2 separate regions of the Homo sapiens genome follow, and region 1 is linked to region 2. The links are contacts of gene promoters, found by promoter capture Hi-C in blood cells and fetal thymus (Javierre and others, 2016). All regions are on one chromosome and are shown on one strand. Each heading gives the region's core, a stretch centred on a gene start or on the middle of the fragment in contact. The rest is flanking DNA. Distances are from core to core; before and after follow the strand shown. Region 1 overlaps LOC107985486 (a long non-coding RNA gene). Region 2 holds the start of HEMK2 (HemK methyltransferase 2, ETF1 glutamine and histone H4 lysine).

The links. Contacts are between HindIII fragments. The CHiCAGO score rates a contact against its expected background, and 5 or more counts as called.
Region 1: a fragment that was not itself captured here is called in contact with the fragment with the promoter of HEMK2 in region 2 in 1 of 17 cell types (naive CD8 T cells); the score reaches 5.8 in naive CD8 T cells.

The regions. Positions count from the first base shown.
Region 1 is chr21:29,450,618-29,453,492 of GRCh38, reverse strand. All of the region lies in intron 1 of LOC107985486 (a long non-coding RNA gene), which reads right to left. Among named protein-coding and RNA genes, the nearest start is that of BACH1-IT3, 44 kb to the left of the region's middle. The HindIII fragment of the contact is 1,773 bases long and covers 475-2,247 here.
Region 2 is chr21:28,884,043-28,886,934 of GRCh38, reverse strand. HEMK2 (HemK methyltransferase 2, ETF1 glutamine and histone H4 lysine) reads left to right here and starts at 1,568. Exons shown (of 6, transcript NM_013240.6): 1 at 1,568-1,723. The coding sequence starts at 1,590. RefSeq lists enhancers at 1,151-1,709, 1,655-1,714, 1,710-2,269. The HindIII fragment of the contact is 10,284 bases long and covers 1,193-2,892 here.

The DNA.
Region 1 (2,875 bases), core at 112-2,611, 570 kb before region 2:
AGCCAAAAATGGGTTCCCATTAGAATAAATTTCTAATAATGAATTTCTCTAGAAAACTGCCAGACTACCTTTATCTAAAACTATAGAAAAAGATCTGGTTCCCATTTTGTAGGGTCTACACAGGGAAATAATAAGTGAACAAATGTGGGCTGAAAGCATAATGGCTAATAATATTTCCCAGAAGAGAAGAAAGAGGTGAGCTGTGTCTTTACAGACATTGCCAATAGGTAAGAGAGGGCACAGAAACTCAAAGAAGCCTTAGATTTACTGAATGTAAGAGAAGGAAGAGGAGAAAAGAGATGTAGATACAAGATTAAAGATTATAAATAAAATTACCATAAGTGACCCCAATTTACCAATCATTTGAAGTGGTTCTAAGAGCAAGATTGTTTCATATTGCCTAAGTTTATGGCAAGGAGCATCAGTGATGTTACACTTTTCAAATGTATCATAACTTACGCATTTCAGAAAGCTTGTACATGGATTATCGTAATTGAGCCTCACAAAAAAACTTTTAAATGGCCTCCTGTGTGATGGTTAATTTTATATGTCAACTTGACTGGGCTTAGGGATGCCCAGATAGTTAGTAAAACACTATTTCTGGGTGTATTTGTGAGGGTCTTTCTGGAAGAGATTAGCATTTGACTCAGTAAACTGAGTAAAAAAAACTGTCCTCACCGAGGTAGGTGGATATCACCCAGGCCATTAAAGGTCTAAATAGAACAGAAAAAAAAATAAAAAATTACTATTTTCAATCAGAAGGATTGTAAAATTCTAATATCTGCCTTTGCACATTTTCTGTCATAAGCTAACCATTGAAAGCTAATTAGGCAAAAATTATTTATTCAAATGTCTACCCCTAACATTACTATCTTAAATTCCACATTCTTTTCTATGTGACTAAGAGCACCATTTTATATCAGGTGTTCTATCCTTTAGGGCTATTGTGAGACATGAGGAATACTTCCATCTCTGATAACCAAGCTGGGGAAATGCCCCTTGATACACCAAATCTCAACTATTAAATGATCTAAAGCAGTGTTTCTAAAATTGTAGTCAATGGACTATCTTCCTTAAAAGGAACTAGAGATCTTGTTAAAATGCAGACTCCTAAGTCCTACCCCAATACTTTTGAGTCAGAATTTCTAATTGGGTCCCAGCTATATTTTAACAAACATCCTAGATAATATTTGTGTACAGGGTAGGATAAGAACCACTGAATCAGAAAATTGGAGCGATGAGTATACAAATAAGACTCAGGCCCTAACACAGAACCCTCTACACATTATACCCAGGGACAGCAAGTACAGATCAAAATAAACAAAAACAAAACGTCCTAGCTTAGGTAAAAAAATAAAAATGAAAAACAGGACAGGTGCGGTGGCTCACGCCTGTCATCCCAGTACTTTGGGAGGCTGAGGAGGGCGGATCACTTGAGGTCAGGAGTTCAAGACCAGCCTGGCCAACATGGTGAAACCCCGTCTCTACTGAAAATACAAAACTTAGCCAGGCGTGGTGGTGCATACCTGTAGCCCCAGCTACTCGGGAGGCTGAGGCAAGAGAATCACTTGAACCCGGGAGGTATAGGCTCCAGTGAGCCGAGATTGCACCACTGCACTCCAGCCTGGGCGACAGAATGAGACCCTGTCTCAAAAAAAAAAAAAAAAATTCTCATTTAAATGCCTTCAAAGGAGGTTTTACAAAGCCTCTTGATATTGACAGCTTCTTTTTTTTTTTTCGAGATGGAGTCTCACTCTGTCGCCCAGGCTAGAGTGCAGTGGCATGATCTTGGCTCACTGCAACCTTCACCTCCCAAGTTCAAGTGATTCTCCTGACTCAGTGTCCCGAGTAAGTTTGGATTACAGGCGTGTGCCACCATACCCAGCTAATTTTTGTATTTTTAGTAGAGAGGGAGGTTTCACCAGGTTGACCAGGCTGGTCTCGAACTCCTGACCTCATGATCCACCAGCCTCAGCCTCCCAAAGTGCTGGGATTACAGGCATGAGCCACCATGCTCAGCCAATAACTTCCTATATGAGTGTGCTTCACTCTAAACATGCACACACACAAAACTAAAATGTGTATATTTAAAAAATCAAATTACTACAATTTTCCTTAAATTTTGGAATATCTTATCCAGGGTTATTTAAAATAGTGTACACAATTATGCATTTTAAATATTGTTCTATCTAGACATAACTTTACACACAGCTGTTCATGAATGTGTCTATTGAACAAAGGTAAGCTTATAGATTTTTCCCAAATAACCCTTCATTTTGGAATTTTCTTTTTTTTTTTTCTGAGACGGAGTTTCGCTCTTGTTGCCCAGGCTGGAGTGCAATGGTATGATCTTGGTTCATCACAATCTCCGCCTCCTGAGTTCAAATGATTGTCCTGCCTCAGCCTCCCAAGTAGCTGGGATTACAGGCATGCGCCACCACACCCAGGCAATTTTGTATTTTTAGTAGACACAGGGTTTCTCCATGTTGGTCAGCCTAGTCTCAAACTCCCGGCCTCAGATGATCAGCATGCCTCAACCTCCCAAAGTGCTGGGATTACAGATGTGAGCCACCGCACCCAGCCAATTTTGGAATTTTCAAAATACGTCAAGGACTGTAGAACTATACATACACACACACACACATATGTATATATAAAATATACGTATAAATACATATATATATAATGTTTATATATACATATATACAATATAATATATACATATGTATATATATGTATATACATTATATAATATATATGTGTATATTTTTGTTTAATTGATGAAATAATTAACTTGTATTTGGGACTGTAATACAAAAAGCTATGGTCTGGGTTGGGCGCAGTGGCTCACGCCTGTAATCCCAGAACTTTGGGT
Region 2 (2,892 bases), core at 319-2,818:
ACTCTTTCTATATATATATATTTTTCATATTTTTACATAATAAAATTCTATATGGCAGTTAAGAGGAGTAACCTAACCATATATCAAAACATAAATCTCATATAATGTTGACTGAAAAAGAAATTTGAAAAATATGTCCAACCTAGTACCAGTTATGTAAATTTTAAAATACACCGTATGTTGCTTATAAAGATATGAATGTTTATAAACGTATAAATACAAGATCCATGTTTTTACATGGATTAGATGGACATACACTAAATCCATAAGAGCCTTGGAGAGAATGTTACACAATTAAACTGAAGGCAAATAGAGAAAGAACATCCATCTTATTTGTAATATTTTAGTTCTTGTATTTAAAAAATATTTTAAGGAAACATGAGAAAATACTGTCATTTCTGGGTTTAAAACTTGGGGTTTTGAAATTTGTAACCCAGCCGGGTGCGTTAAAGGCTCACACCTGTAATCTCAGCACTTTGAGAGCCCAAGGCGGGTGGATCACCTGAAGTCAGCAGTTTGAGACCAGCCTGGCCAACATGGGGAAAATCCGTCTCTACTAAAAATACAAAAATTAGGCAGCCGTGGCTGCAGGCGCCTGTAATCCCAGCTACTCCGGAGGCTGAGGCAGGAGAACCGCTTGAACCTGGGAGGCAGAGGTTGCAGTGAGCCTAGCTCGCGCCACTGCACTCCAGCCTGGGGGATACAGCGAGACTCTGTCTCCAAAAAAAAAAAATACATAAGTAGAAATAAAATAAAATAAAATTTGTACCTCAAATACTTTTCTGTATTTTTATTTCTCAAATTTAAAAAACGAGCTGTAAAAATGTTTCATTGCGAAACAAATTTCAGAAATTGACTCAAAAAGAATGCAAATACTTGAATAGTCTAATAACTTACAGATGTTCCAAAACATCAAAGATCCATTCACTCAAAAAGGCACCAAGCCCAGCCAGTTTTAAGGCTTTCTACCTAATGTTCCAGAAACAGTGTCCTAACTCACATAACGAGGGTAGCGTAATCTTGGTAAAAAAAAACGGAGCCAGATTATTAGCCTCCCCAATTCAGCAGTGTATTAAACCGCATCATCTTGCTTAAGGTTTATAAAAAGAGTGCATTCATGATTCATCAGGAAGGCAATTTATAAAGTACAGTAAAAAAACGAGGAAAGTCTTCATCTTTATAGCGTAAAGCTTAAAGTTCAGCTGACAAAAAAACAGTAAAATTTATTATGTATTTTTTCAAATCCTTGCAAACTAGGAATAAAACAGAATTTCCAAATATCATTAGAATGAAGAAAGAACATTCACCTTAGTCAAAAACAACTCAGAATGCCCACTATCAGGTTCTAGTTCACAGAATAAAATTTAAATGTTCCAAAGAAGAAAGCAAATGTCAATAGTCACGGATTATACAACTGTCTACTTAGCAATTTCAAGGAGAGCCACTGACAAATTTAGAATTAAGACCCAACAACAACACACTGGTCGCCCGGGACGCCAGCCCCACTCCTAGGCCTGCGCATGAGGGTGAGGGCATGCGCATGCGCATGCGCACGCCCTGCGCACGCGCATGGAACGCAGCGAAGGACTATGGCAGGGGAGAACTTCGCTACGCCGTTCCACGGGCACGTGGGCCGCGGCGCCTTCAGCGACGTGTACGAGCCCGCGGAGGACACGTTTCTGCTTTTGGACGCGCTGGAGGCAGCGGCTGCCGAACTGGCAGGGTGCGAGGAGGGGAGGGGCTCTGACGGGAAAGGGTTGCGGCTTTCTGAAGAAGTGCGGTGGAGGAGGGCCGGAACGGTGACTATCACCGCCCTGAGCCGGAGCAGGCGGGGTCCACTTGCAGATGATTGACAGCCAGGACGCCGTAATTGAGAATTTTCCTGTAGCTACAAGTAATGAGTGTGCCGGGGACGCATCTCCTTTGCCAGGGGGCTGCTCTGTCTCATGAGCTCCCTGACTGCTTACCATGCAAAGGCGTATCTTTTCCTGTCGCCTGTTAATCTGAAGAACACATGTCCCTGAGAGAAGCGATAGTATAACACGTTTGGAAACAAAATATTCCGGAAACATTGCTTATTAATATTTTTAAAGTATTACATATTAAAATTGCATGGTATTATTTGATTTACTCAGCACATAGAAAGCACCCTTAACAAACATGAAAGAAAGTTGTGTTACTGGAGTGGGGAAATATTTTTAAACCCACTGAATAGCATACTCTAGCACCAGCCAGTCCTCACATGTGGCTACAGAGCGCTTGAAATGTGGCTAGTGCTATTGAGGAACTGAATTTTTCATTTAATTGTTACCAAAAAAAAGTTACATGCAGCTAGCAGACAATAGTCTACCCTAGCACTTTATTTAAATGGATTTATTGAAGTGATCGCCATCAATTTTAAATTAATAGCAGAAGGAATGAATACTGACATTGTGATTTTTAAATGTAAGGAATTTGGGTTGTTAGATTTGTTTGAAGATAAGATGAACTGGGTTTTCTCAGGATGGAACAAACAGCTTTCAGGTTTCAAAGATCTATATTGTATTTATTTATCCCTCTTAAACTTGGTCATATTTCTCCAGTATAAAATGTCCCAGCTCTTATTAAACTAGTCTTTCATTGTAGATGATGGAACTTTTGGATCTACTGGAATATACAGTGGAACAGTACTGTTTTATAACTTGTCTTTTCTTCTCAAGATAGCCCAGAAAGATTTACAAGCACAAATTGCACTGCAAAGTATGCTGTAAAAGGAGCTGATTTTGTTATAAAGTCTTGGGTTATTTCTAGTTTGGAATTCTAATTATTTATGAGACCATGATAGTTATTTTCAAAGAGAAGCCACCTGGTGAGATTCTCAGACCTTACTACCACCTAATAAAGACTTGTCAG